4 separate regions of the Homo sapiens genome follow, and all the other regions are linked to region 1. Evidence: promoter capture Hi-C in 16 types of primary human blood cells and fetal thymus (Javierre and others, 2016). All regions are on one chromosome and are shown on one strand. Each heading gives the region's core, a stretch centred on a gene start or on the middle of the fragment in contact. The rest is flanking DNA. Distances are from core to core; before and after follow the strand shown.

Region 1 (6,456 bases), core at 3,957-6,456:
ACCACAAAGCTGGAAGTGTTTCTTCCAGTAAGATATTTCCCATCATGCTTACAGCTCATTCTTTATTTCCACTAACAATTTCAACTAGCAGAACAAAACAGGACTCCATTATTGATCATTTAAGCTGGCTGGAATTTATTCTTGCCTCATAATTCTGAAGTTGAAGTGATATCTTCTAGAGGGTCCCAAATTTCAAACCCTTACATAATAATTTGAATTAAACCTCTGCTTATCCTCACTTCATGACTTCGTACACAGGCTGCAAATGTTTGCCTAGTCCTCTCAGCCCTACTTTCTAGTTCCTTAGGTACCCCAATATTATCCAGAGAACCAAAACTGTTTTCACCTCTGTAGTGCACATAAAACATCTTTACAATCAGTATGATCATTTGGTGTATCTACTGTTAATTTAAATGCAGGCTTGAGGCTGTTCAAATGGACTATGTTACACAGGGCACATAGTCTGCAAAACCTTTCCATTTTTAAAAATTCATTTCTATAACCACAGATGAGAATGAGCTTTTATCTTAGCTCCTGGCTCACTATAGTGAAATTATCTATGTATGTGTTTGTCTCCCTCACTTGATCATAAGCTCCTCAGAGAAGTGGCTGTTTACTGCCAGGGCACAGCACAATACTGGGCTCATACTGGGTGATCAGTAGGCATCTACTGGATGAGCTGAGTGGTACACTCACAAAGAGAAGCTCCCTCATTGTTTAGGTGAGATGAGAAGGTGGAGCAACCTGCCATTCAACTTCCGCTAAGGCAAACAAAGCGAAGAGAAGCAGTGGAGTCCAAGGACTGCATTGATGACGTGGCCAGTAACAATACTAATGCACCCCCCCTCAACTCCCTCTCATTTCAGCACGAGGTGTTAAATTAATATTTCTAAGGCTAACATTTATTAAGCACATACTATATACCAGATACTATGCTGATGAGCTTTACAAGCATCTCTTAAATTTCATAGCAACCCAATGAAGAAAATATTATTTTCCTCATTTTACAAATATTGCAACAGAGACTTAGAGTTCCGTACCTTGTAAAGAATAACAAAATTAATTTATATCAGAGCCACAATTTAAATCCAAGCCACCTGGCTTCAACACTCCATGCAATGCCTTCCACACACAAGGACATAAATTCTAAAATCTTACCCTTTACGTTAGTTAGAAAAATAAAGCCATCTGATATTAAAAAAAAAAATCACAGTACTTCTATTTTGTGCAAAGGCACAAAGGAAACCGCCTGGGGCTGATGTAGAGATGTATCACTAGTTCTGTGTGGCTGGAACACTGGGTGCTTGGGGTTATCCTGTGAGAGTTAAGGATAATTTGGAGCCAGTCCAACAAAGATTATCCAAAAGTGTTGGTCTGTATTTTACTGAAAATAGAGAATTATCAAAAGTTTCAGAGCAAAAGAGTGCTGATCATCATATAAAAGTGATGATGTACAGATTTGTTAATTCCATAATAACATTCATTCATTCATTTGTTCAACATTTACCAGTTGCCTATTTTTTGCCAGGCACTGGCCTATGTGCTAGGGTAACTACCAGACAAAGTCCTGTTGCCATGCATCTGATAGTTTCTTTGAGGGAAACAGATATTAAACAGATAAAAACTAAACACAGTATTTAAGAAAGTTCAAAGAGAAAATTAAAGCAAGGAAAAGTTAACAGGGAGTGTCAGGTGTGAGGGAAGTTGAAGACCTCATTATAAGGTGACATTAGAAGACAGGCATGAAAGAAGGGAGAGAAGACAGCAGCTATCTAGGGAAAGTGTGATCCAGATAGAGGGAACAAAACTTGGAAAGGCCATTGTTGGGTGCACATTTAGAGCAAATTAAGGATCGTTAAGGAGGGCAGTATGACTGGATGGGGAGCAGGTGCAGGGGAGTATGAAAGAGATTAGGTACAGAAGGTAGCATCTGATCATGAGCAGGCCTTGAAGCCCTCGTATGTGGGCTTTCACCCTGAGTGGGACAGGAAGCAGAGGAGGGACACAATCTGACTTATATGACAGAAAGGCCTGTCTGTTTCCTGGTTGAAAATATTTTGTAAGAAAGGAGGGCAAGGAACAGAAGCAGGGAAGCTACTGAGGAAGCCGTTGCCAAAGATGCAGCAACTTGGACCAAGCAGAGAGAAATTAAGGCAGTTTAAACAACTCTGGTTCTGGACACATTCAAAAATAACTAATAAAATTTACTAATACATTGGATGTAGATGTGACCTAGGCAAAATCCAGAATGGAACTGCCATTTCCTGAGATAGAAAATGCATTTCCTGAGATGGAAAATGCATTTCCTGAGATGAAGAGGGATGCAGTAGATATAGACAGCAAACTTGTAATTAACACTTTTTAGTGCTTTTAGGGGTTGGGCTCTTGGAAATCACTATCCATGTATTCTCTCAATTATTCCTGATACCTGCCATTTGGATTTACCAGTGAAGAAACAGAAATTCAGAGAGGTTATGATCTGTCCAGGGTCATAAAGCTACCAGCTGACAGAAACAGGCACGACTACCTCTATATAACCCCAAAGTTATTACTCTTAGTTACCATTGTGTGAAGTATAAAACACAGAATAAAATTCCAATGGGAAGGAAGTAAGAGTAAGTACTAAGTGATGACTTGAATCTAGTAGGCCCTCTATAGATATTTGCTGATGGATGAATAAATGAATAAACAGATGTATGGATAACACGTAACAGACCAGCCTGGGTGAGGGAAAAAAAAAAAAAAAAAACTGGAAGACTCCATTCCAGAGAGAGTAGAGTCTGGATAATACATATCCAAATCTGCAAAAGGATAAATGGAAGAAAGGTGAAAAACCAAATATATGGAATGTCCTCAAAGAGCTACAAACTTTCAAAAGCAATCTCAGGTGGCAAAACATCATTTCTGTTTTTGTCTATTAGTGGTATGGGGATGTGGGGGTGGGGAGAGGCAGAGCCCACAAGGGGTATGAAAAGTCTTATACTTACTTTCCAACCTACCTGGTCTCACACACACACATATGTACACATACACACAGACCAGTCCTGAGGTAATGACAGGTCTGAGTACATTATCTTAAATTGTTAGATAAAAAGGCAGGAAAAGATTATACATAGCATTTTACATAATGCAAGTGCCTAATACAGGTTAAAAAAAAAACACAAATAGCAATAATAACAGAAATAAAGTTAGAACTTCTTACTTTTAGTCTAATACAAAAGACCACAGGGGCTTTTAAATAAAAAGCAACCTTTTAAGTCAATCAATAAAACCACCATAAGTGGTTCTGATAGATTCCAGGATAATATTTGTGGTACCTTAGCTAATTTAGAGGTTTACATCTATAAATCACTTCCTAGATTTTCTCTTCACATTGTCTCAACCTTTAAGTGATTTTTCTTCCCTTGTTCCTATCCTGCAGTCCTTGGGTAAACAAATTGCTTAATCAATGCAAGTTTTTAAAACAGCAACTCCAAAAGCAAAGTAGGTCTAGGGGTCCTCTGAACAGAGAAAACTCTCCATTGAAATGGCAAAATATTTATGAGCCGGAGCACATTATAAAATTAAAATATAATCACTACTATATCCTTTAAAAATGTTTAGACCTCCTTTTCAGTGATTTGTTTGCAATAAGGAATTGCCAGCCCGGAGCAGTGGCTCACACCTGTAATGTCCGCATTTCTGGAGGCCAAGGCGGGCGGATCACGAAGTCAAGAGTTCGAGACCAGCCTGACCAACATGGTGAAACCCCATCTCTACTAAAAATACAAAAATTAGCCAGGCATGGTGGCGCGCGCCTGTAATCCCAGCTACTCAGGAGGCCGAGGCAGGAGAATCCCTTGAACCCGGGAGGCGGAGGTTGCAGTGAGCTGGAAATCATGGCACTGCACTCCAGCCTGAGCGACAGAGCCCGACTCCATGAAAGAAAGAAAGACAGAAATTAAAGAAAAGAAAAGAAATTGCCATGATCATATTCCAAACACAATGCCAAAGAAAAACACATTTAATGAATTAAATAGAATTCATGTGAAAAGTTTATTTTTTAATGACAGCTTAAAGAAACTTAGATAAAACTGACAAGAGCCAGTTTCTCATCACACGGATCAGATGGAGGGTGGAATAGGAGGGATAAATGCCTGAGACAAAATGTCAAAATCCATAATTACTTTTAAACTATAAAGACTTGGGGGATAAAAGAAAGTATATCCATGGTCAAATGTCAATACTTTACAAAAAAAAATGGGGTTTACAGGGATTCAACTACTTTTATATTCAATAAATTGGAAGACCTTGTTTCTGAAGCCAAAACAAAACCCTGTAGCTTCCTAGAAGTCCTTCCTTGGATTTCAGACAATACATCATTTATAATTGGGGGCAATACATACCCTTATATTCAACATACTTTTACTCATTTTTTTTCCTTTTTGGTTCCTGATAAGCATGTGATGTTTACTCCCGTGTCTCTCTCTCTCTCACACACGCACACCCACACACACATACACATACTTCATTGTTCCACAGAGGGTAGAACACACTTGTGGGCCTGTGGCATTTTCAAAAATAGGAATGAAAAAAAATAGTTTTATTTAGTCACGATGAAGTTAGCAAACACCCAAACACCCAAGTCTTTGTTTTTTTCCCAAGAACAACACCTACGAACTGCAACCTGTTAATTTAATTAAGAAAAATAGGGCTTTTACTCAGTTCCTAGGCTAGGAATCGCTGAAGCAAGGAAAGTTCAAGGTCTGCTCTCCCGCCGTATCTCTGCACACACACTGGAGCCGGGAGTTTGAGGACTCCCACCAAGAGCCTTTCGCCCGGGAGTCTCCTCTGCCCTTAGCCAGAGGGCTGGCGCGTCCCCCCTCCCTCCTTGACACTTCACCCTGCCTCTTTGGCTGCCATCCCCAGGAAGGCAGGAGCAGAGGCGCCGGAGAATTCGGGGGCCGGGCCGGGGTTCCGCGGCTGCTTCCGCACTCGCGGGCAGTGACGAGGTGGCAGCCGGGACACGGGCGGCAGGGCCGGGAGGGCTCCGCTGCGGCTGGACCGAACGGCTGGGGAGGCTCGCCCAACGCCCGGGCCCACGTACTCACCCGAAGGGTCGCGCGGGGCGCGGGGCGACTGCACACGGGATTCGCGGTCGAGCACAGCCCTCGGCGCGCCGGCGGCCTCGCTGGGAAGCGCGGCGAGACGGGCCGGCGGCGTCGCTGCCGCTGCTGCTGTCACGGAGCTATAAATACCGGCTCGGCCCACACCCGCCGCCGCCTACGCCGGGCGCCCTCCGCGCCGGTGCTTCACCGCGCCGCGCTCCCGCCGCAAAGTCCGCGGCCGCGGGCCGGGCAACGCGAGCGCAAGGGCACCGGCGCCGCGCAGGTGACCGCGATCATGCCAGCTGTGTGCAACCTCTGCAGCTGGAGGCATGGCTTCTCCCCGCCCCTGCCCTCTCGCCCGCACCACGGGCTGACTCCAGCCCGCGGGCCGCGTGCGCCACGGGCCGAGCCTGCCCGGGCCGGCCCGCCTCTGCAGAGCGGCAGCTGCAGGCGAGGGACGGACTCAGGAACCTGGTGGGGGTTGGGGGGCGGCTGACAGAAAATCCACCATCCTGCAGGGAACCAATGAGGGTCCCACTGGAATGTCCTCGAAGAGCTACAAACTTTCGAAAGCAATCTCAGGTCGCAAAACATGATTTCTGTTTTTGTCTGTTGGTGGTGTGGGGATGTGGGGGTGGGGAGAGGCAGAGCCCATGAGGAGTATGAGAAGTCTTCCACTTACTTTCCAACCTGCCTGGTATCACACACACACACACACATATGCACACATACACACATTCATACACACATAGAGATGCACAAATACACTCATGCATACATATGTATACACACATAAGCACACGTATACACATGCATACACACATATGTACATCAGCACACATACTCATGTACAATTTTTAAAGTTTTTGCAGTCTGAGGCTCTCCGGAGCCTGTCATTCTATGATACCTAAATGATACCTCTGCGGCATAGGGCAGGAAGACCCTTTGACTACATCTGACCAATTCCTCTCTTCCTGAATGTAACCTCCTTTCCATCATGTATGTGTGGCCTCTGTTTCCTTCCACACCTAATAGCAACTGCTACCTCAGTTTACCGGTTGCTGAAAACGTGTTAACAGCTGCTATCCAGCATGCTAATATTTTGTGGTAATGGAAGTTATCACTAGTGTATATAATCAAATGGAAAATAGGATTTCTATATGCCCATATTAGCAAACTTATGAAGGCAGAGCTAGGCCCTCCCCTGTACTGGTAGCCTGATTCAGGAATGGGTGGATGGCAAGAGGGAGAACTGAGATGTCCGCGGATTTTAAGATGGGATGGAGAGAGCCATGCCCAAGTGCCATAGGGTAGTTTATCTGCATAGGCATAATTGGGAATTCACTGCCATACTTCCCACTAATTTGAC
Region 2 (6,456 bases), core at 2,234-4,733, 1.7 Mb after region 1:
TTAAATCAAAATGCCCTGGCAGTGGGGTCCAGGAATTTATGTTTTAGATATGTGCTCCAGCTTGTTATAAAACCAAAAATTGAGAATAGTTTGGGCACTATTTTCACACTACTGTTTTTAGTGAAGTCCCCCCCCCCCCGCCTTTTTTTTTTTTTTTTTGAGATGGAGTCTTGCTCTGTCACTCAGGCTGCAGTGCAGTGGTGCGATCTCAGCTCACTGCAAGCTCCGCCTCCCGGGTTCATGCCATTCTCCTGCCTCAGCCTCCCAAGTAGCTGGGACTACAGGTGCCTGCCACCATGCCCAGCTAATTTTTTGTATTTTTAGTAGAGACGGCGTTTCACCATGTTAGCCAGGATGGTCTCCATCTCCTGACCTTATGATCCGCCCACCTCGGCTTCCCAAAGTGCTGGGATTACAGGCATTAGCCACCGTGCCCAGCCCTTTTCCCCCCTTTTTTCTGCAGTTATGTTTGAAGAAGAGAGTTGAGTCAGTGAACAGTAAAGAAAGTTGAATTACTTACTAAAGCCACTTTAATCTCTGCTTTGTTATTGCAAAAACATCTTACATAAAACCAGTGCCCTATACTTTGTATTTTAGGTCATTGAAGGATCATAGTGGTATCTACGTTACATATTTGTGAAGGGTTATCTTGGTTTCTTTGGGCTGCTATAACAAAATACCATCGACTAGAGAGCTTAGAAACTACAGAAATTTATTTCTTACAGTTCTGGAGACTAGAAATCCAAGTCAAGGTACCAGCAGATTCAGTGTCTGATGAGGACCCATTTCCTGGTTCATAGATGGCGCCTTCTCCCTGTGTTCTCACATGGTAGAAGAGGCGAGGCAGGCCCCTTTTATAAGGCCCCCCACTAATCCCATTCATGGGGGCTCTGCTCTCATGACCTAATCATCTACCAAAAGGCCCTACCTCCTAACATCATGTTAGTAATTAGATTTCAACATATGAATTTTGAGGGGACACATTCAGACCATAGCAAATTCTTAGTCCAAACCTGACACATATTAATAAATACTAGTAATTAATTAATTAAAATATTCTGTGCTTTTGGAGGAGAAAGTTACTTGGTTGATGAAAAAATAATATGTACTTTTGATTTAGAAATCTTTTTTTTTTTATTTCTGAGACAAGGTTTCACTCTGTTACCCAAGCTGGAGTACAGTGGCCTGAGATCATGGCTCACTGCAGCCTTGACCTTCTGGGCTCAAGTGATCCTCCCACCTTAGCTTCCCGAGTAGCTGTGACTACAGGCGTGCACACCACACCTGGCTTTTTTTTTTTTTGAGACAGAGTCTCGCTCCATTGCCCAGGCTGGAGTGCAGTGGCATGATCTTGGCTCAGTGCAACCTCCGCCTCCCGGGTTCAAGCAGTTCTCCTGCCTCAGCCTCACAAGTAGCTGGGATTACAGGTGTGTGCCAACTGCCCAGCTTTTTTTGTTTTTTTCTTTTTGTATTTTTTAGTAGAGACGGGGTTTCACCGTGTTGGCCAGCCTGGTTGGTCTTGAACTCCTGACCTCAGGTGATCCACCTGCCTCGGCCTCCCAAAGTGCAGGCATGAGCCACCATACCCTGCCTAGAAAATCTTATTTTAAAGCAGTAAGATCATTATCTATATGCCATACCTATTGGAAGTACTTCCCCTACGTATAAACTTAAATTTTGTTCATAATGTGTGTACTGTATGAGGTTTATGATTTTTGTTTTCAGATTGGCTACTTTTTACTTTATCGTGTTTACCTTTATTACGCATAGGAAAGCTTTCTACCAGTTTTTTTCCCCTCCCTTTTTTAGATTTAAATCAATCCAGCTTTGTGGGGGAGCTGGGGGCTGGTAGAGGAGGTATATTGTGTGATGCTAACTTATTCTTTGAAATGGGTAGATGATTGTTTCAGTGTCATTTATATATAAGCAGTCCTTTTCCTACTTGCCAAGGATTAATGAAATTAGAAATTTAAGAAAAAGAAGATCTTACTTAGAGCTAGAAGTTAAGTTGTCTAGAAATTATTTATTTGTTTGTTTGTTTATTTATTTATTTATTTGAGACGCAGTCTCTGTCACCCAGACGCAGTCTCTGTCACCCAGACTGGAGCGCAGTGGCACTCTCTCGGCTCACTACAGCCTCCACCTTCTGGGTTCAAGCGATTCTTCTGCCTCAGTCTCCTGAGTAGCTGGGACTACAGGCGCATGCCACCACACCTTGCTGATTTTTTATTTTTAGTAGAGATAGGGTTTCCCCATGTTTGCCAGGCTGGTCCCGAACTCCTGACCTCAGGTGATCTGCCTGCCTCAGACTCCCAAAGTGCTGAGATTACAGGCGTGAGCCACTGCGCCCGACTTGGAAACAATTTAGTTGAAAATTAAATAGTAGTGATTTGGCAGTATCATGGGAATGGCCTCCTTTAATGTGTCCGTAAGCATCTTTGCTTTTCTTGCACAGTCACAGGGAGGGTATACATGCCTTGAAGTTGCATTACTGCTTTGCAGCAGCACTTCATTCATACTGTCAAATATTTATGCTGAATATGCCTAAATTTATCACTGACTTTTTTTTTTTTTTTTCAATTTGAGATGGAGTCTCGCTCTGTCACTTAGGCTGGAGTGCAGTGGCATGATCTCGGCTCAAGGCAAGCTCCGCCTCCCGGGTTCACGCCATTCTCCTGCCTCAGCCTCCCAAGTAGCTGGGACTACAGGCGCCTGCCACCACGCCCAGATAATTTTTTGTATTTTTAGTAGAGACAGGGTTTCACCGCACCGTGTTAGCCAGGATGGTCTCGATCTCCTGACCTTGTGATCCGCTTTTTTTTTTTTTTTTTTTTTTGAAACAGATGCTCTGTCGCCCAGGCGGGAGTGCAATGACGCGATCTCAGCTCACTTTAACCTCTGCCTCCTGAGTTCAAGCGATTCTCCTGCCTTAGCCTCCCAAGTAGCTGGGAGTACAGGTGCATGCCACCAAGCCTGGCTAATTTTTTGTGTTTTTAGTAGAGACAGGGTTTCACTGTGTTAGCCAGGATGGTCTCGATCTCCTGACTTTGTGATCCTTCTGCCTCGGCCTCCCAAAGTGCTGGGATTACAGGCGTGAGCCACTGCGCCTGGCCTAATTTTTGTATTTTTAGTAGAGATGAGGTTTCACCATGTTGGTCAGGCTCATCTCGTATCACTGACTCTTTGGTAAGTTTTGCATAGTTTTCACTGAAGCCTCCTATCTTGGACATTTTGAAATGAAAATTACTTTTTCTAGTTTAACTTAAAAGTACAACCAGGCATGGTGGCTCGTACCTGTAATCCTAGCAGGGAGGCAAAGGTGGGTGGATTGCTTGAACCCAGAAGTTCTAGACCAGCCTTGGCAAAACACTCTCTCAACAACAACAAAAATACAAAAAATTACCTGGGCATAGTGGTGTGCGCCTGTGGTCCCAGCTACTCCAGAGGTTGAGGTGGGAGGATTGCTTGAGCCCAGGAGGTTGAGGCTGCAATGAACCGTGTTCGCACCACTGAACTCCAGCCTGGGCGACTTGTGTGTGTGTGTGTTTGTTTGTATGTATGTATGTATGTATGTATGTATGTATGTATAAAAAACCTCCTGTAATTGGTTTTAAGTAAACTTCAAGTTTGACAAATGTTATTATGCCGAGTGTTGTTTTATCACATGTAAATACATGTAACCACCCCCAAAATTAGGATTAGGATACAGAATTGTTTCATCACCGCAAAGGTACCTTGTGCTACCCCTTGGTCAGTTGTAGACAAGCTACCTAGAGCTAGATGCTTTATGCCTTATTAAACTTGAGGATGAGCCATAGTAACATTTTATTTCAGTTTGATCCACAGTGAAAAAGTTCCCTTTTAGGACTTCAGTGCTTTTGAATGTCAGTATGGGTATAGTGAAGACATACCCACCTAACTCATATTAATGCTTTGCCTCATTAAAATTATTTAATAGAGTTACCTCTTTGAATGTTGGATGTTTAATATTCTGCTTTCAACAGTTTTAAGCAACTAATAGCCAGAACCTGGATAACTACCTTTACTTTTCCAGTATTTTCAAACTTTAATTTTTCTTTTTGGCCTAAAAGTGCAAGTGCTGTCTTCAGATGAGTTGCTTTTGCTAATTTATCTTATTGCTTCTAATAAGCCACTGATATGTCATAAGTTCTCAGTGTGAGTTTCTACTCTTTATCTAAATCTCCCAAACCAGTTTTTCAAAATGGGAGAATAGATATTTGGGAGTTAAAAAACTATAAACAAATTACTTCATTCCTTACAGCAATACCTAAGTGTTTTATGATTTTTTAATGGTATGCAGCATATGTATTCACTAGTGCATGTGTTCTTATATTTCCAGTAAAGAAAGAAAAACATCTTTCCTATATACTATGTGTTTTTTGACATTGAATTATGATCAATAAATTTACCTATAACTTGATTTTTCCTATCCAATTTTGACTGCATTAAACCTTTGTGAAGTAAATCATTACCCCCCAAAGAAACCCTGTATCCAGTAACAGTAACTCCCACCTTGCACTCCTCAGTCCCCCAGTCATGAGCAACCACGAGTCTACTTTCTGTCTGCCTGTTTGGGGCATTTTACATAAAGGAATCACACAGTATGTGGCCTTTTGAATCTGGCTTTCTTTTTGGCATAATATTTCAAGGTTTATCCACTGTAGCGTGTATCACTATATTTCATTCCTTTTTATGGACAAATAATAGTCCATTGTATGGATATACCACATTTTGCTCATTATTTGGTGGACATTTGAGTTCTTTCATACTTTTTGGCTATTATGAATAATGCTGCTCTGAGCATTCATGGACAGTTTTTCTGTGAACATGTTTTCAGTTCTCTTGAGTATATACTGAGGAATTTAATTGGTGAGTCATGGTTGCACAACTCTGAATATACGAAAAACCATTGAATTACACACTTTAAAAGGGAATTATGCTTGTATTATTCTGCTTTGCTTTGTAACAACCCCATACATCTAAACAGTTTACAATAGCAAGCATTTATTTCTTGCACACATTACATGTCTATGGCTATGACTTTGCTTGATATATCTTCTCATCCTGGGATCCAAGCTAAAGGAGCAATCCATACATTGGATATGCCTGGTCTTGTGGTAGTGGATGAGCAAGAAGCCAGATTGAACAACACAGTCCCATTTGAAGCTTCTACTTTGATGCCACAGTATCATGTCTTTTTATATTATTTTGGCCAAAGCAAGTCACTTGAATAAGGTCAAAGTCAATAAATGATGCAGGGATATATGCCTCCCTTATCAGGCAGGCAAGGCCCATGGTAATGAATAGGGTTGTATAATCCTTTTACAGTTAAATGTGGGGAGTGAATAACTGAACAGTAATACAGTCTACTACACAAATAGAGATTGCCAGTTAAGGAGAAAGAAAGACTAATTGATGCAAGAAGGTCTTTAAGGACTCCTGAGAAGAAGATGGGCAACAAGGGGAAGCATATGGAGTTGGTAATAGGTATGAGACTAGCTAAGGGGAAGACAATTAATTTATATTTCTACTAATCAGCATAGTCATGTCATTAACTGTTCTTCAGTATTCATCTGAGAATGTGAATGAACAGCTCAGTTTCAACTGAAGATTGTGCTGAAAAGGTACGGTGAAAGAAGAAGGTGGAAGTTTGCAGGTATAGGAACATGAATGGATGAACCATATGATGTAGTCTGAGTAGGGAGGGAAATGGGTAAAGCAGGGAGCTTATACTTAGGAAGCATGTGATTGGAGGGCTGAGTGATTTCCACACATGTAATGGGATATAAATAATAAGCCTGGGCAACAAAGCAAAACTTTGTCTCTACAAAAAATTTTTTAAAAATTAGGCTTGGTGGCACATGCTTATAGTCCTAGATACTTGGGGACTGAGGCAGGACGATAGCTTGAGCCCAGGAGATTGAGGCTGTAGTGAGCTGTGTTTGTACCACTGCACTCCACCCTGAGCGACAGAGCAAGACCCTGTCTCAGAAAAAAGAACCATAATTATTAGATCAGAGACTAGTCTGAGATGAGGTATTGGATTGCAGTTTCTGACAGGGTCCAGGATTTGTCATTTTTTTACTTTTTCTTCTCTCTCTCTTTTTTTTTCTTTTGTCAGAGAGGGTCTCACTCTGTTGCCCAGACCTGGTGTGCATTGGCATGATCACAATTCACTGTAGCCTCAAACTCCTGGGCTCAAACTATCCTCCTAACTCAGCCTCCCGAGTAACTGGGACTACAGGCACACACCACCATGCCTGGCTAATTTTTTTTTTATTCTTTGTAGAGATGGGGTTTTGCCATGTTGCCCAGGCTGGTGTTGAACTCCTGGGCTCAAGCGATCCACCCACGTCGGCCTCCTAAAGTGCTGGGATTACAGGTGTGAGCCACTGTGCCCGGCCAGCATTTGCCATTTTTCACTGAAGGGAAAAG
Region 3 (6,456 bases), core at 2,514-5,013, 1.5 Mb after region 1:
AAAGAAGCTCACTAGCATGTAAGGGCTGTATGTAAGTGAACCGTTCAGAAGTCAGAAAGCAGAAATTCAGAGTTCATGATAACGGCAAAACAATTCCCAGTGATGAAAGTAAGGCCTGGCCATGCCTGTGGATATATAAAGTTGAAAAATACAAGAAACAACTAGAGTTAAACATGGCATTAAATCACGATACAGAGGCAGATTGGATAGAGAAGATTGTGAGTCAGAAATTGTAATCATCAAGGAAGAAGGAATGGTCTCCTGGAAATTCATCAGAGAATACAATAAGACAGGGTGGTGTAAATGAGGACGTTCAAAGTTGACGTGGAAACAGAGGCTTGGAGAAAGTAATGAGGAGGAAGAAATATGCCCGAACTCATCTCAAGAATCAAGGAATTAGGAGGCAAGTAAGTTGGGGGGAAAGTTTCAAATCTCATTGCATTCCTTAACAACTGGATGACCTTGACCAAGTTATTTAATCTCCCTACGCTTTAGTTCCCTCAACTATAAAGTGGGGATAATAATAATACCTACTTCACAGAGTTGATGTGAGGAATAAACAAAATAATATATGTTAAAAATTTAGAACAGAACCTGGCATATAGCACTCAAAAGATGTTAGCTATGTCTATTTACCCTATACCCTGGTATTACTTCCATTAAACCAGTAAAAGGTTTGCAGCAAGAAAGAGCCAGGCATGCCAATACAAGTGCCTGATAGTTGTATGTCATTCAGGAAAGCAAAACTATGGAATCTTGCATGTCTCTAAGAGTTTAAAACCAAGCCATAATAAAGCTTCTAGAAAAAGACTTCAGCTTGACTTCCCAGGGAACTTACTTTACAGAGGATGAAATGCCGAGAACTTCAGTAAAAGAATCTTTATGCAGATAAAACATATGAAGTAAAGTAGGCAAAAATGCAGCTCACTAAACTAGGGGTCAGAAAATGTTTGCTCTTTCAAAAGCCAAATAATATTTTAGGCACTGTGGCTATATGGTCTCCATCACATCTTCTCAACATTCCTCTGACACACAACAGCAGCCACGGATAACATATAAAAAATAGGCGTGGCTGTGTTCCAATATAATTTTATTTACAAAAACAGACAGCTGACCAGATTTGGCCTATGGGTTGTAATTTGTCAACCTCCAATCTAAATAATTACGCACGTCCTGAAAGTTTTCAAGCACAATTTATTAAAGAAGAAAGAGGCTACCTACAGCTTCATATTTCCCACAGAATATCAAGAAAGGTACGGACTTTTTCACCCCATCTTTTACCAATATCTTAAAATTTTTGTGCTTTAAAAGTTTAATTGTATTTTGGAAAGAAAAATTAAATAATGATAGAAATGTTTTGGCTGGTTCATATTTTGTTCTCTACCAGAGATCTGACAAAAAGCCTTTCTTAAAATATGTTGCATAGAACACTAATCCACAAAATATTAGTATTTCCCATTCTACTACAAAACATAAAAGGGGGTTCTGTGAGTAAATAACTTTGAGAAACACATTTACTTAGAGTTCCACATCTCAGATTACTCCTTAATGGCAGATACAGATTCAACAATTAATTCATCTACTTATATATGGCCTTTTGACCTTATTATAATTAACCTCTCTGAGCTTCATTTTCCTAACCTCTCCAGACATAGCAATTCTGACATGAATGGTATCTATATTACAATTTCAGGTTTTAGTCTTTTCATCATCAGTTATCTCATTTTTAACCTTACATGAATACATGGACTCTCAAGCTTTAAAATATTTTATATAACTGAGACAATTTGGGGAGGACAGCAATCAATTCTTATTATAACGCATATCATGATAAATTCAGGTGAATTGAAAAGCTAAATGTTTGGATGGAAAAGACAGAATAAAAAGATCCCCCACCCACCCAAAACAACTGTAAGAAAAAAAAATTTGTAAGTATGCAGGAAGAGCCATTTTGTATCAAAATACCAAGTATAAACTATATACAGAAAGGCCTCTAAGGTGAAAATTAGAATTAGATTTAAAGTACATTTCCAATTAAAAGAGAAAATTTCAACATCAATGCCAGTCTTAAATATTAATATTTAATAATTTATTTTTGGCTGGGCACAGTAGCTCACACATGTAATCCTACCACTTCGGGAGGCCGAGGCGGGATGGATCACTTGAGTTCAAGGAGTTCGACACCAGCCTGGCCAACATGGTGAAACACTGTGTCTATTAAAAATACAAAAATTAGCCGGGCATGGTGGTGCACACCTGTAGTCCCAGCTGCTCGGGAGGCTGAGGCAGGAGAATGGCTTGAATCCAGGAGGCGGAGGTTACAGTGAGCCAAGATCACGCCACTGTACTCCAGCCTGGAGGAACAGAGCGAGACTCTGTTTCAAAAACTTAATAATAATAATGATTTACTTTTAATCTTTTAATGAATGCTAGCAAAACCACTAAGAATAAGATGAACACACTAATAAAAAACAGACAAACGATACGAAGATAATTCAATGGAAGATAGACGAAAAATATCACCTCACTAAATATTAATATTTAAGATAACAAAGTTAAAATAAGTTTTCTCTATTAAATAGGCAAATGATCTCCTCTAATCAGTTACTGTGCCAAAGAATTACATCTAGGAAAGGGTTTTGTTTAGATATAAGGTAAGACATAAGGTTGCTTAGTTTGACCTTTCCATGGTGTCTTAATTAAAAAAAAAAAGAAACTAAGACTTTGATTTTTCATTTTTACCTGATTTATCATAAATTGTGTTTTTATACTAGGGGATAAAAATTTAACAGAAATAGGACTCAACTGTTTTGTAAAACTAACATCATGTGCACTAGTACCTAAGAGTATTCACAGAGTACTCACCATTATTCATAGTAGCTGTATATGTACCTCTGTTAGTGTTGGAAGGAAAATTAAACAGTAATAAACATCAAGATACCCTTTCTCATTTACGGATTAGTGGAATTCTTTTATAATCTCTCCTTTTTTCCCTGAGATAGAAACTCTCATGGTTGACATTTGAAAACTAGTGCAAACTATGTTCAACAGTTAATTGTGATGAGAAGAATGAGAAAGAATTAAAAGCATTCTGCAACATTTTGTGAAACTGAGCCTAAAAAAGCCAGGTATTTACAGACATGAATGTATGGCTGTGTACAGAGAGAGAAAAAAAACTTGTTCATGAAGATAAGAAAGGCGTTCTGACAGTCATATTTGCAGTCCTATCTAATATTTTATCTCTGTGTGGACCCTAGAAGTTTAACCTTGATTTATGGGCCAGAGTAGTATTTCCCTTTTTAGGACCATTAAATCCCTAGTGATTTCTAGCCAAACCCAAGTGTTGCATATTATTCATGATAAAGCTTAAGGAGACACTTAATCTTTAAAAATATTCACTCAGCCTCCAGGAAAGTTCTAAAACCTGTGTTTAAAATGCCAACTCACTGGGGCACGGTGGCTCAGGCCTGTGATTCCAGCACTTTGGGAGGCTGAGGCAGGCAAATTGCTTGAGCCTAGGAGTTAGAGACCAGCCTGGGCAACACAGGGACAGGGAAACCCTGTCTCAAAAAAACAAAAACAAAAACAAAAACAAAAAAAAACAAGAAAGGCCAGGTGCAGGCTCACACCTGTAATCCCAGCACTTTGGGAGCCGAGGAGGGCAGATCACCTGAGTTCAGGAGTTCCAGACCAGCCTGGCCAACATGGTGAAACCCCGTCTCTACTAAAAATACAAAAATTAGCCAGGCATGGTGGCGTACGCCTGTAATCCCAACTACTCAGGAGGCTGAGGCAAGAGAATCACTTGAACCTGGGAGGTGAAAGCTGCCGTGAGCCGAGATCGCACCACTGCACTCCAGCCTGGGCGACAGAGTGAGACTCTGTCTCAAAAAAAAAAAAAAAAAAAAAGTGTCCGGTACTAGTGGTTAGCTGTAAAAACCACTCAGTATCAACTAGTATAATTTTCTTTGTGCAAGTATCATCTCGATTTTAAGGATTTTTTTGTTGTTTTATCCATAACCCTGAAGCATGCTAAATAGAGAAACAGTATATTAAAGTCTGGACATATTTTTAATACTGTTCCATAAATCACCAGGTAAAAACTGCAAGTAAGACAAAGGTCCATTTACCATGGAGAGAAAACTTACAACAAAAGCTTTCAAAACTATAGGTTTCTAGCTATGTTGGAAATGAAGGTATCAACATATATGATACAATGCATTCAATACAATGAACTATACGATGAATCAAAAAGGGCCTTTGAAGAAATATAAATAACAATACAACCAGGATTATGAGGCCTCCAAAAAACACATCTGACGAAACTGATGCTTTTTATTATCAAAGAGTACACAGCCTGAGAGTTAGGACAGTGTCTTTGGCTATATCGCAAACACTCCAGCTATACTGGCTGGCATATAAAAGACGCAAAGTCATCAGGAGAATGGAGGAAGGGAAGAACTAACACCCCATAAGGCACTGTCTCTCAAAATGTGGTCCTTGAACCATCTGTGATTGCAGATTACTTTAGATGCTTATTTGAAAAGCAGATTTTTGAAGCTCAGATTCTCCTGTTAATACAAATCCCCAAGGTAATTCCCGCCCCTCACATCAGTCAAACCAGGTAAGCGGTGATAGAACCCTCAGTGTCAGCAGACATATGTTCACCGGTTATGAGTAAAATTCGACAAAGTGGGAGAAAGGGATACAAGGGAAGGGAAGAATGGGGAGATGGAAAGCATTTACTTCTTATTCTGAACCTCATTTTTCTCTCCTTCCCACATCCAAATATACACAAATATTCATATAAAATATTGGCTACTTCCTTTCTAGTCAATAGGGACTTCCAAAAAGAATTACGATTTCAAGAATTATTTTGAGAAAGCAGCCAGGTAATTAGCAAGGCAAGCTTAAGAATAAGTGAAGTACAACCTCAAATATCTTTTATTTTAAATGTGGAAACGGAAAACCACAGACACTGCGACTTAAGCTGAGGAATTTTCCATATCACCTCTTCTTCTATCCTATCAAAAAATCAAACACCTGTCTGCCTGCTTGAGTTCAGATTAGAAGTTTGGTGGTCAAGTTCAAGGCTGTTTCCACAAAATCACATGTTTACAGTTAAAAGCATTCTAGAAAAAGTAGAACAAACGAAAGTATTCCAGGCATAAGATATGGACTAAGAGATCTTCCAACTAGAACTTTGTTTGTTTTTTTAAGGCGGAGTCTCCCTCTGTCGCCCACGCTGGGGTGCAACAGCACGCCTTCGCCTGCAAACTCCGCCTCCCAGGTCCAAGTGATTCTCGTGCCTCAGCCTTCCGAGCAGCTGGGATTACAGGAGCATGCCACCATACCCAGATAATTTTTGTACTTTTAGTAGAGATGGGGTTTCCCCATGTTGGCCAAGCTGGTCTCAAACTCCTGACCTCAGGTGATCCACCCACCTCGGGCTCCCAAAGTGCTTAGATTACAAGCATGAGCCACCTGCCTGGCCTTTTTAAAAATTTTTTGAGACAGAGTCTCACTCTGTCACCCAGGGTGGAGTGCAATGGTGTGATCACAGCTCACTGCAGCCTCAACCTCCCAGGCTCAAGCAATTCTCCCACATCAGCTTCCAAAGGTACCAAGCGCATGCCACCACATCCAACTTATTTTTTAATTTTTTTTGTAGAAATGGGGTCGCCTTATGTTGCCCAGGCTGGTCTCGAACTTCTGGGCTGAAGCTATCCTCCCACTTCAGCCTCCCAAAGTACTGGGATTACAGGTGTGAGCCACCACACCCAGCCCCTAGCATTTAAAAGTAAAGTATATTGGCCACTTGATGACACTCTTGTTCCATATTTTTCAACATTATATAATACTTCAAATCAGTTCCATCCTAAGATTTATTACTATTATTATTTTATTTTGAGACAGAGTTTTGCTCTTGTTGCCCAAGCTGGAGTACAGTGGTGCAATCTTGGCTCACTGCAACCTCCGCTTCCCAGGTTCAAGCAATTCTCATGCCTCAGTCTCCTGAGTAGCTGGGACTACAGGCACGTGCCACCATGCCTGGCTAATTTTTGTATTTTTAGTAGAGACAGGGTTTTGCCATGTTGGCCAGGCTGGTCTCAAACTCCTGGCCTCAAGCGATCTGCCCACCTCAGCCTCCCAAAATGCTGGGATTACAGGTGTGAGCCACTGAGCCCGACCGCTAAGGTTTATTATAAGATCTCATAACTACAGGGGGAAAAAATGACCTGAAAACAACCTCATTCTAAGTCACTAACTCTTGGTAGAGTATAGCATGTTTCTTTGATACAAAATGAAATAAATCCTGATATATTCTGAATTTCATCTATAAGTATGTTTTGAAAAAATAGACAATATAATCATTGTGTAAATACAGAAACAAGACGAGCAGGTGATGACACACTTGAAATGTAGATAACTTCACCAGGCATGCCCAAATATGAA
Region 4 (6,456 bases), core at 2,893-5,392, 1.1 Mb before region 1:
AGATGTGATTTGGAGTTAAAAAAATATAGACTTTGCTTTCGAGAAGTTTAGTGATAAGAGCAAGGAGAGAGAAGGGTGTGGTTACAAGGCAGGAAAGACCTGGAAGATGGCTTAGACTAGCCTGATGGTCTCATTGCACCATCTGGATAATTTTTTAGTGAATCTTTTGTGTATTTTTTCAGCCTTTTTCTTTGCATGTGTTATTTTGAAATCACTTAATATGATACACATTTTGTAAATGTCCAGCTTAAGAAATGGAAAAGTGTCATACAGCATTTAATGCCATGTGAATATAGAAATATACAGAAACTACTTTTAATGCATAATCTGAGTGAAGAGTTTCCACAAGGGTTTAAATCAAATAAGATGGTTTCCATAACTCCTAAATAACTTCTAAAGTATCTTTAAGGTTACTGCTGCCTATGAAATACTGTGATTCTCCCTCCATACTCTAGACCCAGAAGTCTTTGAATTAGCGGAGTGGAAGATGTGGACCCTTCTATGGCAGAATATTTCTCATTATAGGATGATACTGCAGTACCACGCCTATCCTTTCCCGAGTGCCAACACTTTTTCTGTGAGAAAAGACTTTCTTACCTGAGTGATTTTTTCCTATTGGGTGCATTCAAGTATTTACAATACTTATTGGTAAAACAGAATTAGCTATAGCTTTTAGAGCATATTAGATTTAGCGAGACAAGAAACATAATCATTACCCTTTAGGAATCAAGGTAGCACAAAATGTGAGGAAAATGTTTTGGAAATATTTGCTTCAAACTAATCAGCTAATGTTAACAAAGCATTCTATTCTGAGAAGAGGAATTACAAATATAATAGTAGTACCTACCGCATGACAGTTTTTTAGAGTTAAAATTCATAACATCCATATCTCACAAGGCCTGGAGATAGAGCAGGTATAATCTTTTCATTGCCATATCCAGAAAATGTCTCATTTTTCTTCATCTTTCAAAATCCCTAGCTCATGGAGGCCCAGAATGTGGGACTTTCAGTGTTAAAACCAAGAAAGTTATCTGTAAATTGGGAAGAGTTGGAATATCTATTTGGAGCAAAGCCGCTGGACTATGCTTATCCTTCCATCCTGTAGTAATCTACAAAGCTCCTCATTTGGTGAAGATGTTAACACCTGACTTCTTTCTTTCTTTCCATGACTACCTTTGGTATATATACATATATATATAAAGTACATTCAATGGATTTTGTTTTAAGTCTCTTGACCTTTTCTTTTCTTTATTTCTTTTTTTTTTTTTTTTTTGATGGGGTCTCACTCTGTTGCCCAGGCTGGAGTGCAGTGGTGTGACCTTGGCTCACTGACACCCCCGTCTCCCAGGTTCAAGTGATTCTCCTGCCTCAGCCTCCCAAGTAGCTGGGATTACAGGTGTGGGCCACCATGCCTGTCTAATTTTTTGTATTTTTAGTAGGGGTGGGGTTTTACCATTTGGCCAGGTTGGTCTCGAACTTCTGACCTCAGGTGATGGGCCCGCCTTGGCCTCCCAGATTTTTGGGATTACAGGGGTGAGCCACCACGCATGGCCTTGTGACCTTTTCCATTACAATCTTTTCATGCCTCATCTCACCCCCTGACCTTAGCTGCCAATCATCATGGTAAAACTTTATACTATGTTGTTGTGAATAACTGTACCATACTCAAAATCTCATCTTCTAACATCCAGTCACCAAACACCCCTTCTTCTGTTTTCAGCTAACTGCCTCTATGACAATTGTGGACTACTCTGGGGCTTCTAATCCATTGACTATTACAATTTTTAGTTTCCACTACCCTCTTTTATCCTCACTTCCTCCTTGTCCAGCTTAGATTCCATTGTTTAATTACTTGTAAATGCCCTCAGCTTTTTTGCCTCACTCTCTGCCTTACTCAAATGGCAGAACATCAATACTGGTTAATCCCAAGCACTCACAGAAATGTCACATAGTTTAGTGATTAAGGTTGTGGGTTCTGGACCCACGCTCCTTGAATCCTGAGTCGAACATTTACTAGCCATGTGGCTTGAGTAAGTTTCTTCACTGCTCTGTGCCTCAGTTTCCTCATGTATACCTATCTAATGGAGTTGTTGCGGGCTCAAACGTATTAATATAAAGTAATATAAAAATGAAGTGTTTAGAATAGTGCTTGGCACTTAATAAACATTTAATAAATGTTTACCAAGCTTGCAGTTCATGGTTGGAGAGGAACATCTAACTTAGCTGAGGGATCTCTCTTAATTTTCATGACTGTGTCTCAAGTGGGCCCTTAGTGCCTCTCTGCAGTTGTCAACCACAGTTTCCATTTTCTCACTGAATTATTTTTTCCCTGTCTGAGGTTACTATGTTACACTTTTTCTTATCAAATTTCCAACTTGTATTCCTTGTTCTTCACTCTCTGCTGATGACTTTGCTTCTTATCTTGCTGAGCAAACAGAAGCAATCAGAAGATAATGATATTTTCCCACCACCTAGTCTCTCACATCTGAATATTTCTATTACAGAGGAAGGGTCTCTGTCCCCATGTTAAAAACAATCCCTTTACTTGTGCACTGGATTCCATCTCTTTTCACCTTCTCAAGAATTTGCTGACATAATTATCTCTGTTCTGTCTTGCATAATCACTATATCTCTCTTCTCCCTGCTGTAATGTGCTGTAATATTGATCAAGGGAGAATAGAACCCTCGTTCGCTTTTATGTCCCCTATAGCTACCGATTTATTGACCACCCTTTACAGCCAACCTTAATGTCTCCACGGTCTCAGCCCATATCCTCATGACAAATCGAATCAGGCTTCCACCTTGATGGGATTCACCTTTGAATCTTTAAATATTGACTTTTAAGTAACAGAATGTTCCAGAGCTCAGTCCTTGGCTCTCTTGGGTTTGCTGAAATGACTGGAATTACTAAAATCAGGAGAAGTTAATTTCATAGGTTTAATAAGAGGCAATTAGAACTGTTGAGAAAAAGGGAAAAAGCATTATTTATAAGAAGGGGGAAAACATTTATGATCATTTTTATGCCAAATACTACTTTATATCAGATAATTTAATGCAAGCAATTCACTTATGATAAATTCAGTTCCACAGTATTTTGGGGACTGGCAGTGGTGGAAAGGAGATGGAGAGACTCAAAGAAAAAGAAGAAGAGGTCATGACAACATGGTTCTGAAACTGGTCAGGTTATTATCCTAATTTAAATATGGAAAATCAAGAGCTAAATCAATACAAGAACTAGAACCAGAATTCTTGGTGGTTCCAGGTCTTCTGTTAAGTTATTTGCCTCCCATATTGATATACAGTAAAGAATAAAGTGCGGCTAAATTATACATTTAAAAGGTATTCAAGTGGAAAATTGCTGGAAAGGGTAATAAAATAACAACCACAAAAATACAATTTTCCTTGGCATTTTCAACTTAATTACCTCAGAGCTGCTCAGATTTTCAGCCAGTCATTACTAGGATTTTTGCATTGGTACAATTAGATTTTCTTCTTGGAAACCCATTTTTGATGAAGAACAAACTGGAATATAGATGGATCATTATGTTTTATTATTAAAATTTCAAAGCTTACACTTTGAGAAAACTCATGATATTAAAATACCATAATAAAGTCGCTTAACCACCTTAGAGGTTTTTCTATATAACATCATGATTTGAGCATACTTTGTCTATTTAGATTTGAGTTTTGGTGAATATTGTAAAGGTTAGAAGTTTGGATATGCAGTTTATACTAAACCACTCTAAAAATATAGTGCTAATAATGATAGCTACTTTATTTTGAGCAACTACATACAATTAACTATTTATATCGGCTATAACTTTTATCCCTTACAATGACTTGATGAAGTGGTTTTATCATCCTTCACAGGAAGAAACCAAGATTCAAAGATATTTAATAATTTTTCCTTGGAAATTAGAAACATGCTCACATTCCTCTTACCTCCAAAGGAAAAGGAAAAGGAAACCGTTAAGTGTCAGATACTACTCCTGGATCTTTTGTGTAACTATCTTGTTTAATCCAAAGTAGGAGCTAAGAAATAGATTGTAATACAAGCTTTATAAGAAGCACTTTGTATTCCATGAGTACAAGTCTGAATGGCATTTTAAATTAGAGAGACTTGCAGTATGTTATAGTGACTTCCCCCATTTCAGCATCGCATTTTGTATGTGATACTTGAATCCTTGACCCTACAGAGAACTAAAAGAATTATTTCACATCAAGCTTTTTCCTCTTATCTAGTGACTGCTGAAACATTTCTTCTTTCCAAACCAGTTTATAAAACTGTTGGTCCTCACCTAAAAATAGAGTTGCTGTGAATTAGATTCTTGATCTGTATACATATGGCACAATCATATGAAATAGTTTTTTCCTGGCATACATTTCCTTTTTCAGCATTTAAGCACACAGCAAGTATAGGACATTTTGAACTTTTTATTTAACATTGATTTCTTTAGAGAGCTTTACATCCATTTGTTGTTTAAAAGTTGGTATTTTTGTTTCTTTTTGCAGCCAAACACTTTGATAATATTTTGAGGTAAATGCCTGAAGATGTCCAAAAAAAGTAAAAGTCATAACAGAAATTGGATTTCAAATGGTTCTTTGTTAAGAAATGACTTATAACAAATTCTCTCTCTGTGTTTGCTACTAACTATTCCACAATCAAGTGTTAATGTTTTAGGTAAAAAATAAAGTCAAGGGAGGGGTGTGAGTGGGAGCTAACGGTTGAGAGAGGGCCGAGCATGGTGACTCATACCTGTAATCCCAGCACTTTGGGAGGTCGAGGCAGGGGGATCACTTGAGGTCAGGAGTTCGACAACAGCCTGGCCAACATGGTGAAAGCCTGTCTCTACTAAAAATACAAAAAATAGCCAGGCGTGGTGGTGCGTGCCTGTAATCACAGCTACTCGGGAGGCTGAAGCAGGAGAATCACTTGAACCTGGGAGGCGGAGTTTGCGGCGAGCCAAAATCGCACCATTGCACTCCAGCCTGGGCAACAGAGTAAGGCCCTGTCTCAAAAGACAAACAAACAAACAAACAAGCAAGTTGAGAGGTCAGAAGCAAAGAGGAGAGAATTGAAAACAAATGCACCACACTGGGAGATTTAAGTCATCTTTGTGGGAAATTTTAATTTTTCTCCCTTTATTCTTTTTTGTTCTCTACCATGTTAGCAAGCTGCCTCTTTAGATTTTTATTTAAAGAAAGATTTTTTTTTAGAAAAAAAATCACACCAAGTTTCCACCTACAAATAAAAACATAGATATAAGATGGAGATAATTTTTCTTTTATCTGTTGCCCTTGTTTGATCAGGATATTTTATAAAAATAGATCCAGGACTGAAAAACTGCAAAACGAGAGCTTTGTAAGTGACAACCTTAGAAATAAATCAGTAACCCTGTTGTTCAGTGCTGGTCTGCTACATCTATGATTCTTATTCATGAACTTATTATTTTGGCTAAACACTACTGTAAGATATAATTGATTCAATTCAACAAACGTGTTGCTTGCTGAATTTCAGGTGGTTGGGATTAAGTATAGGGATGAATAAGACAGTTTTGGTTTTTTTTTACGTGTGGATATCATTTATTTTAGCATTTTTTTTGTTATACTTTAAGTTTTAGGGTACATGTGCACAACGTGCAGGCTTGTCACGCATGTATACATGTGCCATGTTGGTGTGCTGCACCCATCAACTTGTCATTTACATTAGGTATATCTCCCAATGCTATCCCTCCCCCATCCCCCCACCCCACAACAGTCCCCAGAGTGTGATGTTCCCCTTCCTGTGTCCAGGTGTTCTCATTGTTCAATTCCCACCTATGAGTGAGAACATGCAGTGTTTCGTTTTTTGTCCTTGCGATAGTTTGCTGAGAATGATGGTTTCAGCTTCATCCATGTCCCTACAAAGGACATGAACTCATCATTTTTCATGGCTGCATAGTATTCCATGGTGTATATGTGCCACATTTTCTTAATCCAGTCTATCATTGTTGGACATTTGGGTTGGTTCCAAGTCTTTGCTATTGTGAATAGTGCCACAATAAACATACGTGTGCACGTGACTTTATAGCAGCATGATTTATAATCCTTTGGGTATATACCCAGTAATGGGATGGCTGGGTCAAATGGTATTTCTAGTTCTAGATCCCTGAGGAATCGCCACACTGACTTCCACAATGCTTGAACTAGTTTACAGTCCTACCAACAGTGTAAAAGTGTTCCTATTTCTCCACCTCCTCTCCAGCACCTGTTGCTTCCTGTCTTTTTAATGATTGCCATTCTAACTGGTGTGAGATGGTATCTCATTGTGGTTTTGATTTGTATTTCTCTGATGGCCAGTGATGATGAGCATTTTTTCATGTGTCTTTTGGCTGCATAAATGTCTTCTTTTGAGAAGTGTCTGTTCATATCCTTCGCTGATAGTTTTGATTTCTCTTAGGAGAAGTAAATGGGTAA

What was found. Contacts are between HindIII fragments. The CHiCAGO score rates a contact against its expected background, and 5 or more counts as called.
Region 2: a contact is called between a fragment that was not itself captured here and the fragment with the promoter of TMEM117 in region 1, in 1 of 17 cell types (M2 macrophages). The highest score is 5.1, in M2 macrophages.
Region 3: a fragment that was not itself captured here is called in contact with the fragment with the promoter of TMEM117 in region 1 in 1 of 17 cell types (M0 macrophages); the score reaches 5.1 in M0 macrophages.
Region 4: a fragment that was not itself captured here is called in contact with the fragment with the promoter of TMEM117 in region 1 in 1 of 17 cell types (M2 macrophages); the score reaches 5.6 in M2 macrophages.

Annotation. Positions count from the first base shown.
Region 1 is chr12:43,834,831-43,841,286 of GRCh38, reverse strand. TMEM117 (transmembrane protein 117) reads right to left here and starts at 5,206. Exons shown (of 8, transcript NM_032256.3): 1 at 5,091-5,206. RefSeq lists silencers at 4,733-4,965, 4,952-5,391, 5,422-5,531. The HindIII fragment of the contact is 19,666 bases long and covers 1-6,456 here.
Region 2 is chr12:42,133,884-42,140,339 of GRCh38, reverse strand. All of the region lies in intron 1 of GXYLT1 (glucoside xylosyltransferase 1), which reads left to right. Among named protein-coding and RNA genes, the nearest start is that of GXYLT1, 7.8 kb to the left of the region's middle. The HindIII fragment of the contact is 3,412 bases long and covers 1,778-5,189 here.
Region 3 is chr12:42,363,678-42,370,133 of GRCh38, reverse strand. The region is part of intron 4 of PPHLN1 (periphilin 1); the gene reads right to left. Among named protein-coding and RNA genes, the nearest start is that of PPHLN1, 41 kb to the right of the region's middle. The HindIII fragment of the contact is 791 bases long and covers 3,368-4,158 here.
Region 4 is chr12:44,939,265-44,945,720 of GRCh38, reverse strand. No RefSeq gene overlaps it. Among named protein-coding and RNA genes, the nearest start is that of NELL2, 66 kb to the right of the region's middle. The HindIII fragment of the contact is 168 bases long and covers 4,059-4,226 here.